Regions from separate parts of the Homo sapiens genome. Here region 1 is linked to region 2. Evidence: promoter capture Hi-C in 16 types of primary human blood cells and fetal thymus (Javierre and others, 2016). All regions are on one chromosome and are shown on one strand. Each heading gives the region's core, a stretch centred on a gene start or on the middle of the fragment in contact. The rest is flanking DNA. Distances are from core to core; before and after follow the strand shown. Region 1 overlaps ECI2-DT (ECI2 divergent transcript). Region 2 holds the start of BPHL (biphenyl hydrolase like).

Region 1 (6,144 bases), core at 2,897-5,396, 1.0 Mb before region 2:
AAACACTAATCAAAAGAAAGCTGTGTTGTCTACATTAATATAAAAAATAGACTTCATATAAAGGAAAATTACTTACCAGGGATAAAAAGGGACAGTACAAAATAATAAAGGTCAATTCATCAAGAAGACATACAGTCATCAGTTTGTATCCACCTAACAACAGAACTCCAAAATGCATGAAGCAAAAACTGATTGAACTGAATAGAGAAATAGTCACATTTACAATTACATATGGCGACATCAACATTCCTCTCTCAGTAATTTATGGAACAAGGAGACACAAAGTCAGTAAGTGACAATGAATGATAGGATGCATATTCTTTTGACAACACATGGAATGTTCACCGCGATAGGCCACATACTACTGGATATAAAACTAACAAATGTAAAAGAATTGAATTCATACAAAGAATGTTCTTGGAGTACAGTGGAATTAAACTAGAGATAAGAGAAAGATCACGAAAAATCCCCAAATACAGCGGGACACAGTGGCTCATGCCTGTAATCCCAGCACTTTGGGAGGCCAAGGTGGGAGGATCATGAGATTAGGAGTTTGAGACCAGCCTGGCTAACACAGTGAAACCCTGTCTCTACTAAAAATACAAAAAATTAGCTAGGCATGGTGGTGGGCGCCTGTAGTCCCAGCTACTTGGGAGGCTGAGGTAGGAGAATGCCTTGAACCCAGGAGGAGGAGGCTGTGGTGAGCTGAGATCGCACCACTGCACTCCAGCCTGGGGCCAGTGTGAGATTCTGTCTCATTAAAAAAAAAAAAAAAAAAAAAAATCCCCAAATACTTAGAAATATCTTACCTTTCTCTCCCTTCAGGAAGGACACCTGAGGCACATGCTCTTCACTGGCACCCAGGCTACTATAGTAGAATTGAGTGTCAGTTGTCCACAGAGGTAACTTGCTTAATGATTTTACCCTTTATTGCCTGCCTTTCCTTGTCTCTTTTAATTCTCTACTCCTACACCAAGGTTTCCTGGAATCATTCCCCAAATAAACTCCTCTCTTGGGGTCTGCTTCTGGGAGACTCTAACCTAAGACAGCTGCATATACAGTTAATTCTCATTATTCATGATAATTAGATTTTCTAAAGTCATAGCAAACACTGAATAAGTCAATAGTGAACCATTGTTTCTAGAGGTAATCCAGGATTAGGTTCCTTTGAGTCTCTGGTTACATTTTCATCATAAGCTTATCCGATGTGTTTCTATGGAAAGACACATCATTTAAAGTACATATATATGTATATAGTTGATTCAATAATACTGAATTTGCTAACAGCATTATAAACTCAGGCCTGAAGGAAGTCTAGCTCACATTTTCTCCATGAGGCACATCACAGCCTTATTGCTTTTACACTAGATAGCAATTCAGCATTATGCTTGCAGGCCATTTTAAACAGCAAATCACCAAAAAAAGCACAAAAATATGAAAATATGTAGCATTAAGTAAACCCCATAAGGACATTTATTTACAGTATGACAGTTGAAATAAGAAGGCAGAAGGTCACCTTGTTTGACCTCAGCTGTGAATATGTGCTTCGGGCAAATCAAATTTTCCAACACTCCAGACATGTTGCAAATGCCCCATGAGTATTGATTTAAAGTTTACAAATAGGCCGGGTGCAGTGGCTCACACCTGTAATTTCAGCACTTTGGGAGGCCAAGGCAGGTGGATCACCTGACGTCAGGAATTCAAGACCAGCCTGGCCAACATGGTGAAACCCTGTCTTTACTAAAAATGCAAAAAAATTAGACAGGCATGGTGGTGCATGCCTGTAGTGTCAACTACTCTGGAGGCTGAGGCTAGAGAATCACTTGAACCCTGAAGCTAGAGAATCACTTGAACCCAGGAGGTGGAGGCTACAGTGAGCTGAGATCATGCCACCGCACTCCAGCCTGGGAGAGAGAGCAAGACTCCATCTCAAAAAAATAAATAAATAAATAAATAAATAAAAATAAAGTTTACAAATAAATTTTAGCAAGTAGGCAAACTCTCAAATACACAAACTACGAAAAATAAGGATTGACTATGTTTTTCTAATCTTATTTAAAGTCAAGCTGCTGATTTATGGATGGAATTTTAAATTTACTTCTTTCTTGTGCAGAACAGAGAAGGCAGGAGCACCTTTGCTGAGTCAATAAGGATACCACCTGCCTACGAACCACGGATGCCATTCTTGAACATTCTTCTCAGCCCTTAAATGCATGTAAATTATATGACATTGTGTTGAATACATATAATTGTCTTTGTGGCTCTCTGTGGTTAACTAAATTGTAGGTATTGTTCTTGTTCTTATGTATTCATTAGGACAGGTAAATTAATTTAAGCTGTGGTGTAAACAAGAAAAAATGGAATGACTTCAGAAAAGCAGCCATTTCTTACACAGTGTATCTATCAGTTCCAATCATTTTCAGAGGGAGAGTCCTCCAAAAATAATTTTTTTTTTTTTTTTTTGCTACAGAAGGATAGTTGAAAAGTATCCTCAAATACAAGGTCAGGTTAATGCTTGTGCAACATACAGAAAGAGTGGATAAAAGAGCCTTGGATGAATGAACAAATCACGCAGGTGTAAAGCACTTAGACAGAGGTGATAACATGAGCCAAATGTTTACTTTTGAAATGACTTTCTTCTCTAAATTATAACGATGGGAAATAAGAAAAACACCCCAAAGCAGGTAATATTCCAGCATACTATTTTTAATATCTCTGACATATAAGATTGTGTAGGAAGGCAATACAAAGCCTAGCTAGGAAGAAGAAAAGAGGATTAATTTTGTAAAGGAGACATAATAATGCCACAGGTTTAATTTATCTCAAGCAATGTCATCCAGCTAAAGCAGGAAACAATTATGATACAGAACGTTGAACGTGGACTAATCATTTTAATGACTAATGGAAAAAGCTATAATAGATTTTTCACCCAGAAATTTATAGAGTTAAGTAACACCACAGTTGCCTTCGTACCACTCTCCCCAGTTCATTTCGGCACAGGAACTTGGCAACAGTCAAAGTCCTCTGCCTTTAGCTACCACTCACTGAAAAAGCAACATTTCAAACCACAAAAACACTCATGTTAACACCTTCTGACAACTTAATGAAAAGGTAGCAACTGACTCACAACTTATTATCAAATGTGGAAAAGCACGCTCTAGAAGGAAACTTTCAACAGCTCATCCATCATCCAACAAACCTTCACAGAGTACAGTATTTTCTGTCAAGCAGTGTGTCCAGAAATGAGAAAGGGGTTGAATACAGGGTAGAATTCTTCCCAGGATATGCCCCTTGTAATAAAATAGATTACTAATCAGATATAAAACACAGTGACATAGGGGCCAGAAGAAAGAAACGCCCAGGAGACTGTAGGAACTCAGGACAGGACTAACCAGTGGGTGGGTCAGAGGAGATTCCTGGATATGCCAATGCCTGGAATGAGAGAACCTGGAAACTCAGAGAAACTGAGCATCCCAAGTTCACCTGAAATGGGAAGTTAACATGTGGGGCTGGAAAGAGGTGCCTGAGAAGGTAGGCAAGGGCAAATCTTGTGGGCCTTATTTGCCAGTGCTAAGCAGCTTGGGTTTGTTTAACAGGCAAAGGGGACTCACTAAGAGATTTTCAGCCAAGGGGAGAGATCGGGGAGAATCGTGTGGAGTGTAAGATTTAAAATTTAGGGAGACCAGCCTGGAAGCAGGGAGAGAATGGATTGCAGAGGTAACTGAATTAGCAAAACTGGGAAGTGGCTGCTACAGGAATCCAGGTAACAGTAATCTCAAAATCAATGAGAGCATGAATTAAGACGATGCAGAGGGATGTGAGATGAGGGGGAAAATTAAAAAAATATATTTAGGAGACAGAATCACTAGTATTTGATGAATGATAGATGTGAGGTGTCAGTGAGGTAAGGGAATCAAAGACTCTTCCAGGTTTCTAGCTTGCACTGTTAATTGGGACAGTGTATCAGAATTGTTCCTCAAGACTGAATGTGACAGACTCTGTACATGCTGTAACAACAGTATCTGATGATGTAAATATTGGAAATAAAAATTATCATGACTGACAGAGTCATCATGTAACATTCTACTCTGATATAATCTATTCTATGATCTTAAAAAAGAAACATTCACACTACCACTGAGCACAACACTGTGAAGTCGATATGCTGACCCCAAAGATTCATTATAGCCGGAGACAACACTTCCTGTGCACCTGCTAAGAGAGTCTGAGATTCTCTCAACCCAAAGAACATCAACGGCCCTCCCAGGCAGCATCAGTCCCCTGCAATCAATAAGACAGGATCTAACCAGACTGGAGGACCCCCTCCCCAAGATTTTCATAAGCTCCAGGGGAAGCTGGTTATATAACAGGGTGAAGATTAGAGCTTTAGAGAGGTCTTGACTGAGTTTCTGCCTTTCCTACTCTTATCCAGAACCATTACACCCTGAAGATATATCTGGAGTCCAGGATTTCACTGAGAACTGGATAGCTGGGCATGCCAATTGTATCTTCAATGGCTCTCTGCTTGCTCTCAGCACGGAATCCAAACTCCTTAGCACAGATACAATGATCTTCAAGCTCAGGTGGAGAATCTACCAAAATCACAATGGTTCCCTTTTGCTGCAACTGGCCCTCCCACCCACAGGGCCATGGCAGCCATGTTTACAAGGCATGGTCTGGACACCTCTTAACAGTTTAGTAAACCAAATACGGACCCAAGATGACCCTCTTTAGGATCTAGGAATCTAAATGTCTGTCTCTTTAACCAGGAATGTCTGTCTCTTTAACCATCTCCTTTCTCTCAAATGCTGGATATAATGGGGCTTTAGTAAATGACAGCTGGTAGATATGCAAATGATTTCTCCAATAGGAAAAACATTCCTCCCGAGGTTATGGTTTTATTGCTCTATGGGATATTAACCAGTTTTGTTTCTAACTTTGCAATCTATTCCAGCATTCTTTTTTTAACATTGACTATATTAAACTAGTCTTTTAACTTCTTCTTTAGCACCCTGTTGGTTCCCTAATTAATGAGCTAAGTAAATCTTTGACACATGCTCTTTCTATATTTTTAAAATTATAGTTTGAAAAAGATAAGCTAATTTCCCACACCCCACTCTTTTCTGTGGTAGGTATAAGCCTGAGAGTAGTTTGCTTGCATTGCAAAAGGTTTCACTATCAAAATATGCTTACCAGTATGAGATTTAAAAAATATTTCCATGACAGCTGTTTCATCTTCTGGAAATGAATGAGTCTTGTATTATCTGCAATATCTGATTACTGCATTTCCATTACCTCTGAGGTTATCTAACAGCCTTGGAGAGAGTCAAGGTCTCTGAGAGAGGCAGCTCAGCCTACCAACTACCACTTTGTAATATATGGAGAGGCCAGGTGTGGTGGCTCACACCTGTAATCCCAACACTGGGAGGCCGAAGCGGGTGGATCACCTGAAATCAGGAGTTTGAGACCAGTCTGACCAACAAGGTGAAACCCCATCTCTACTAAATACAAAAAATTAGCCGGGCCTGGTGGCGCATGCTTGTAATCCCAGCTACTCGGGAGCCCGAGACAGGAGAATCACTTGAACCCAGGAGGTGGAGGTTGCAGTGAGCCGAGATTGTGCCAGTGCACTCCAGCCTACGCAACAAGACGGAAACTCCATCTCAAAAAAAAAAAAATCTCTTTGGGATAAGCCCAAATTGTTCTATTTGACTTTTGGTGTTGCCCCATCTACACTATTACCCAGATCTACCTGATGAAACTTAATGATAAAGTTACTTGAGACTTGGACTCTGCCCACCTGCAAGCCTCCTGTCTTTGGGGAATTCACCTGATTAATCTTTCTGGGTCTCAGTTTCCACATCAGCTCAACAGGGCAATATGCTCAACAGGGCAATTTCCACATCAGCTCAACAGGGCAATATCATTTTCCTTACAGGGTTGTCCAAAGACTTACAATTAGCCTGGCTCACTATAGGTAGTCCACAGGTGTCAGCTACATAAATCTAAAACTCCTAGGCATGCTTGGATGGGACAACTTGGGCACAGAATTTAGAGGGGTGGTTTTGTTTCGTTTTGTTCTGTTTTGTTTTTTGGTTCTCTGGGAACTGGACAAGGTGACACAGCCAAGGCCCTTCCAACTCT
Region 2 (6,080 bases), core at 2,483-4,982:
TCCCACAGCTTATCAGACAGATGACTGAGTGAAGCACAGGAGGGACATGATGGCAAGCCAGGACAGATGCCAGAAGGAGGCGCTCTCTTCTCCTGGTGGAGTGCCAATACAATGAAATCAACCACCATCTCCTTTTATTTTTATTTTTATTTATTTATTTTTTGAGATGGAGTCTCACTCTGTCGCCCAGGCTGGAGTGCAGTGGCGCCATCTCGGCTCACTGCAAGTTCCACCTCCCGGGTTCACACCATTCTCCTGCCTCAGCCTCCCAAGTAGCTGGGACTACAGGCACCCGCCACCACGCCCGGCTAATTTTTTTGTATTTTTAGTAGAGACGGGGTTTCACCCTGTTAGCCAGGATGGTCTCAATCTCCTGACCTCGTGATCTGCCTGCCTCAGCCTCCCTAAGCGCTGGGATTACAGGCCCGGCCCATCTCCTTTTTCTTCTACATACTCTCTACTCCTACCTCTGCCCTTAGTCAAAGGATAACTGAAACACAGCCCTTTTGAAAAAATGAGGTCCTGTTTTATCTTTTGGTTTAATCTTATTTGCCAGTCTCAAGTAAAAAAGAAACAAACGTGGAAACAGATGTGTTGAATACAGGTACATCTACTCTTAACATACCATTTCTGGAAAAATAAAAGACAGAATTGGGTAGTAATAAGGTCTGACTAAACTATAAGCTCCTTATCTACAGAAATATTATTAAAGGGGCATCAATGAAGCCACCAAGCAATGGCAATACTGACTCTGCCATTTACTTATTATGATTACTGCCCTATTCCTCTGAGAAATTCATTTCTACAGTTAAGATAGCTTAGGATCGGCCAGGTGTGGTGGCTCACACCTGTAATCCCGATACTTTGGGCGGCCCAGGTGGGTGGATCACGAGGTCAGGATCACGAGGTCAGGAGATCAAGACCATCCTGCCCAACATGGTGGAACGCCATCTCTACTAAAATACACACAAAAAAATTAGCCCGGCATGGTGGTGCACACCTGTAATCCCAGCTACTCAGAAGGCTGAGGCAGGGGAATCGCTGGAACCTGGGAGGTGAAGATTACAGTGAGCCGAGATCGTGCCACTGCACTCCAGCCTGGTGACAGAGAGAGACTCCGTCTCAAAAAAAAAAAAAAAAAAAAAAAAAAAGAAACTGCTATTATCATATTGTATGTTCAGCTATTTCTTTTGTGTATGTTTTGTGAAGTAGCCATTATCTACAATAAAGTATTTGCTACCTTCAGGGCTTGAAATTTGCATGAATCTTGATGAATTATTTTTACATCTCTTATATATTGTACTATTATATAAATATTCCCATTGTGCCTACTAATTACTTCATGTTTATTATATCCCCAGGCTTTTACATTTATTGTTTCAAATCCTCACAAAAACGCTGCAAGGCAGGAGGCTCAGAGAGGTTGAACAATCTGCCCACACTCACAGAGCTAGGAAGTGGCCACGGGGCCATTAGAACTCCAGAGGCCATGATTCCTCTCTAACCTCATGGCTGAACAGAGTCCTAAGAGGGCTCAGGCACCGGGGCCACACTCTGACTGCCAGATACAGCGTGGTGGCAAGCGTCAGCAGAAGGACAGTCTCTGATTCTCTGGCAGGGCATCCCAAGGTTGAACTTGGAAAATATTTTTTAGGAAGATTGTTAGGTTATGTGAATTATTAATATTTATAACTGCACATAATATCCAATTTCAGGTAGAAAAGGCTTTTCTTGACCTGACCCAGGAATAAATCACCTTACGGATTTTGAAATAAGGGTCAAAGTTCCAAACAGCAGACTTACAAACAAGTTTTTGGAACAAAAGTCAGTTGTAGGTTGGGCACTGGCTATTCTGAAGCAAAGTTTTTACACGAATCCTTTTACCTACTGACACTGAGCTACAGCTGCATTTCAGGATTAACTAATACCACTGCTTGTTTTCCCAGATTATATGTCATATCAACTTGCAGCTGCATTTATAAAACGGCCGTACAAAATCCAGAAAAACCTGTTTCTTCAGAGATATTTTAGGAAGAATGATCTGCAATGCAACTAGATGGATGGGGCCTTCCTCAACCATTAAATAACCTATCAGAACTATACTGGTAGGCCGAGAGCGGTGGCTCACGCCTGTAATCCCAGCACTTTGGGAGGCTGAGGCAGGTGGATCATTTGAGGTCAAGAGTTCGAGATCAGCTTGGCCAACATGGTGAAACCCCATCTCTACTAAAAACACAAAAATTAGCCGGGCATGGTGGCAGGTACCTGTAATCCCAGCTACTCGGGAGGCTGAGGCCACGAGAATCGCTTAAACCTGGGAGGCAGAGGTTGCAGTGAGCGAGATCACAACACTGCACTCCAGCATGGGCAAAAGAGCGAGAGTCAGTCTCAAAAAAAAAAAGAACTATATTGGTACAATCACAGTAACTTATTTCGATGCCTTTCTGCAGACAGGAAACTGGAAAAAATAATCATTTTCACTGTTAATTTATACAGCTGTAGCCATTAACATGTTTTTCCATCTATCAAAATAGCCCTGACCATCTTATAATAATTCTAAAATTAAAGGAGCTAGTCAATTGCAATATGAAATTTTAAAAGCTGGTCAGATTTGCCCTCTTTTCTCCTTCTAAATCAAGTTTTCAAACTAAAAGTTTCTATGTTGGATCAAGTACAGTTCTAAACGCTGTGTACCTATCTAGTACTGACTTTATGAAAGTAGCCCATCAACAGTCAACTGCGCACATGCACTGTGTACGTTCGTTGTATACGTGTGTTTGCATGTGTGTAGGGATGTATGTAGAGAATAAAGTAAAACAAGCTTCATGCCGCTCTATCCACATTTCTGCCCAGTATCTCTTGGGACCAAGAGTATCCATTTTCAAGACAGAAGGTCAGAAATTAATCCAGTTTTTTTGTTATTGTTTTACCTGAAATGGGGGGACAGGTGGGAGGACAAAAGAGAATAAAGCAGATTCCTGGGCATCTCCACACATGTAGATCAGATCCTCTGGGAGTGAGGCCCAGGATTCTGAATTTTCAGTTCCCAACGTGATTCTTTTGCACATTAAGGTACGAGATCAGCAAGCAAAGAGAAGACTTAGGGCTCTCGGGACCCGTGATTAAAGCCTTAGCGGTACTCAGGCTCAGGCTGATTTCTGACATAAGAGAAAGAAGAGATTATTGTCCTTATGCCCTTAGTGTGGACTCTGGACAGAGCAATGGACTAATGAGGGCGTTGGGATTCTAGTCCGTGCTCCGTCACGGGTGAGTCCATACTACAGGCAAATGTATCTCCCTGGGTCTCTCTGGTCTGCACACTGAAGGGGCTGCACTCTATAGCCCAAGCCTCCACGGCTCCAGACTCCTTGAACTGAGGCTGACCGAGGCGCATGCACGATCGAGGGGCTCGAGCACCAAGCGCGGCTGGCCCCCAGGATCGGGGTCTCGCGGCACAAAGGGCGACAGGGCAGCCAGGCCGCGCCCACGCCCCGTGCCCGCGCGCCGGGAACTCCTGCTGTCGGCACGCGCCCCTCCCGCCGCCCCTCGAGCGCGCCGATGCTGGGGATCCCCGGGGCGAGGTGGCCGCCATTACCCGAACGCGGCCGCGGGTCCGGCCCGTGGGACGTGGATCCCGGGCTTCAGCGCTGAGAGAAGCAGCCGCAGGCGCAACACGCCCCGGCCGCCCAGCACAGCCACCATGGTCACAGGTCGCGTAGCTGCCGGGAGTGCGCATGCGCTAAGACCAAGCGCGGTACCCGGCCCACTCTGCCCCGAAGCCACGCCCTCTGCTCCGCCCACCTCGCCTCTCCATCCTGCTCCGCCCTCTGCCCGCCCCGCCCCGAAGCCACGCCCTGCCGGGTGCTTTCCCATGGGCGACCGAAACTCGGCTCGTGGTTTCGCAGTCCTGGAACCGCCGGCACCCGCGTAGACCGTCCCCTCTCGGTGCTGGCTCTGGCTCCCGGGATGAGTGTCCCCGTCGGCGCTGCCCCGCCCTCGCTCGTCGCCTCAGCGACCATGGCCTTTCCAGGAGGCGAGGCCGCCAGCCATAGCGCCCTCGCTGCGTCGGCGTCCAGGCGGGACTCCGGAGTGGGCGGGGCTCCGGCTCTAGGCAGGCTGCTATGTTGGATCAAGTAAAGTTCTAAACGCTGTGCACCTATTTAGTACTGACTAGTACTAGGAAGTGTATTTGCTTTTCGGAGATGATGGGATCTAAATTTTGTTTATACCACTTCACGCCCATTAGGATGGCTACTAGCAAAACCCCCAGAAATTAGTGTTGGTGAAGATGTAGAGAAATTGAAGCCCTTGTATATTGCTGTTGGGAATGTAAAATGGTGCAGCCATGTGATGAACAATACTGCGGTTCCTCAACAAATCAGTTATATGATCCAGCATTTTCTTTTCTGGGTATATAACCCAAAAGAATTTAAAACAGGGTGTACAAGAAGAAATGTTTTTACACTCACGTTGACAGCGGCACTATTCACAATAGCCAAAAGGGTGGAGGCAATTTAAGTGTCCAAAAACAGATACATGGATAAGCAAAATGTTGTCTGTGCATGCAAGGGAACATTTTTTAGCCTGAACAAAGAACGAAATTCTGACACTTGCTACTACATGGATGAACCTGGAGGACACTATGCTGAGGGAGGTAAGCCAGTCAAAAAAAGACAAATACTGTGTGATTCCACTTATATAATAAGGTACCTAGAGGAGTCAAACTTATAGGGACAGAAAATAGAATGGGGGTTGTTGAGGGCTGGTGGAAGGGGGAATGGAAAGTTGGTGTTTCATGGGGACAGAGTTTCAGTTTGGAGAGATGAAAAAGTCCTGGGGATGGATTTTGGTGATGCCTGCATTACATTGTGAGTGTACTTACTGCCACTGAACTACACACCTAAAAGTGGTTTAAGTGGTAAGTTTTATGTATGTTTTACCACAATTAATTTTTTTTCTTTTGGCTGTATAATTGCAGCTTTATAAAGGTTATAGACATTATCTAATTGAAAGCTCAGTGGAGAAAAAAAACAACTATTGCTTTTTAAGTCAATCGTTCTGCCTTAATTGGAAATAACTGGCAGATTTGTGGCTACTGTTGTAGCCTTGGCTTGAATAATTGGAGACAACAGCTTCTTTGCATATTGCATTTCTTCTCCTCCAAGAGACCTTTTTGGTGTAACAGTCAGTCCTGTGAGCACAGTGCTTGTAGGTGTTACACTCATAGAAATTTCTGTCACCTGCAGTGTCCTCACTGGCCCATTGGACTTTCTTGAGTAGTAAAGGCAGTTTTGGCCTAAATACAGACTATGCAAAAGTTTTCATATTCTACTCTCAACATAAATCTATCACATTAATTCCTGCATAAAAGGAAAGAGACATATATAATGTTTGAGTTTAATATCGTTTGACTTTCAGAAATCTTTGGTGAGGTCAGTATTTCCTTTTTTCCTGATATGTTGATTGGGGTTTCATCTCAGAAATGATAAAAATAGCTGTCTGTACAGTTTCAACACCAGTTACCCTTGTGCTAATAAAAAACGGTAGCACTGAGTTTTAGGTTATTGGTGTCACAATTTTTTTTTTTTGAGACGGAGTTTTGGTCTTGTTGCCCAGGCTGGAGTGCAATGGCGCAATCTCAGCTCACTGTAACCTCTGCCTCGCAGGTTCAAGCAATTCTCCTGCCTCAGCCTCCTGAGTAGCTGAGATTACAAGCACCCGCCACCATGCCCGGCTAATTTTTGTAATTTTAGTAGAGACGAGGTTTTGCCATGTTGGCCAGGCTGGTCTCAAACTCCTGACCTCAGGTGATCCACCCGCCTCAGCCTCCTAAAGTGCTAGGATTACAGGTGTGTGCCACCGCGTCCAGCGTGGTGTCACTATTTTTAAGTAACATACCTGACAACCAGTTCTTTATATATAGCAAGATCGTACAGTTTAAAAAAACTGCCATTTTTGTGCCAGGCACCTTATGATATATCATATTTCTTTAATCTTCACATTAGCCTTCTGTGCTATTGCACTCTCCATTTATAGATGAGGCAACTGAGGCTAAGAAAGGTTAGGAAGCAAGCCCTAGG

What was found. The method cuts DNA at HindIII sites, captures the fragments that hold promoters and counts their contacts. A CHiCAGO score of 5 or more calls a contact.
Region 1: a fragment that was not itself captured here is called in contact with the fragment with the promoter of BPHL in region 2 in 3 of 17 cell types (non-activated CD4 T cells, fetal thymus and activated CD4 T cells); the score reaches 7.5 in non-activated CD4 T cells.

The regions. Positions count from the first base shown.
Region 1 is chr6:4,136,452-4,142,595 of GRCh38, reverse strand. It overlaps ECI2-DT (ECI2 divergent transcript), which reads right to left. Exons shown (of 4, transcript NR_103764.1): 2 at 5,194-5,235. LOC107986559 (a long non-coding RNA gene) reads left to right here and starts at 794. Exons shown (of 2, transcript XR_001743933.2): 1 at 794-902; 2 at 2,114-2,262. The HindIII fragment of the contact is 5,893 bases long and covers 1,200-6,144 here.
Region 2 is chr6:3,116,363-3,122,442 of GRCh38, reverse strand. It overlaps BPHL (biphenyl hydrolase like), which reads right to left and starts at 3,732. Exons shown (of 7, transcript NM_004332.4): 1 at 3,596-3,732. The coding sequence starts at 3,702. LOC107986556 (a long non-coding RNA gene) reads left to right here and starts at 3,796. Exons shown (of 4, transcript XR_001743928.3): 1 at 3,796-4,654. RefSeq lists a silencer at 3,435-3,824 and an enhancer at 3,863-4,498. The HindIII fragment of the contact is 8,418 bases long and covers 2,824-6,080 here.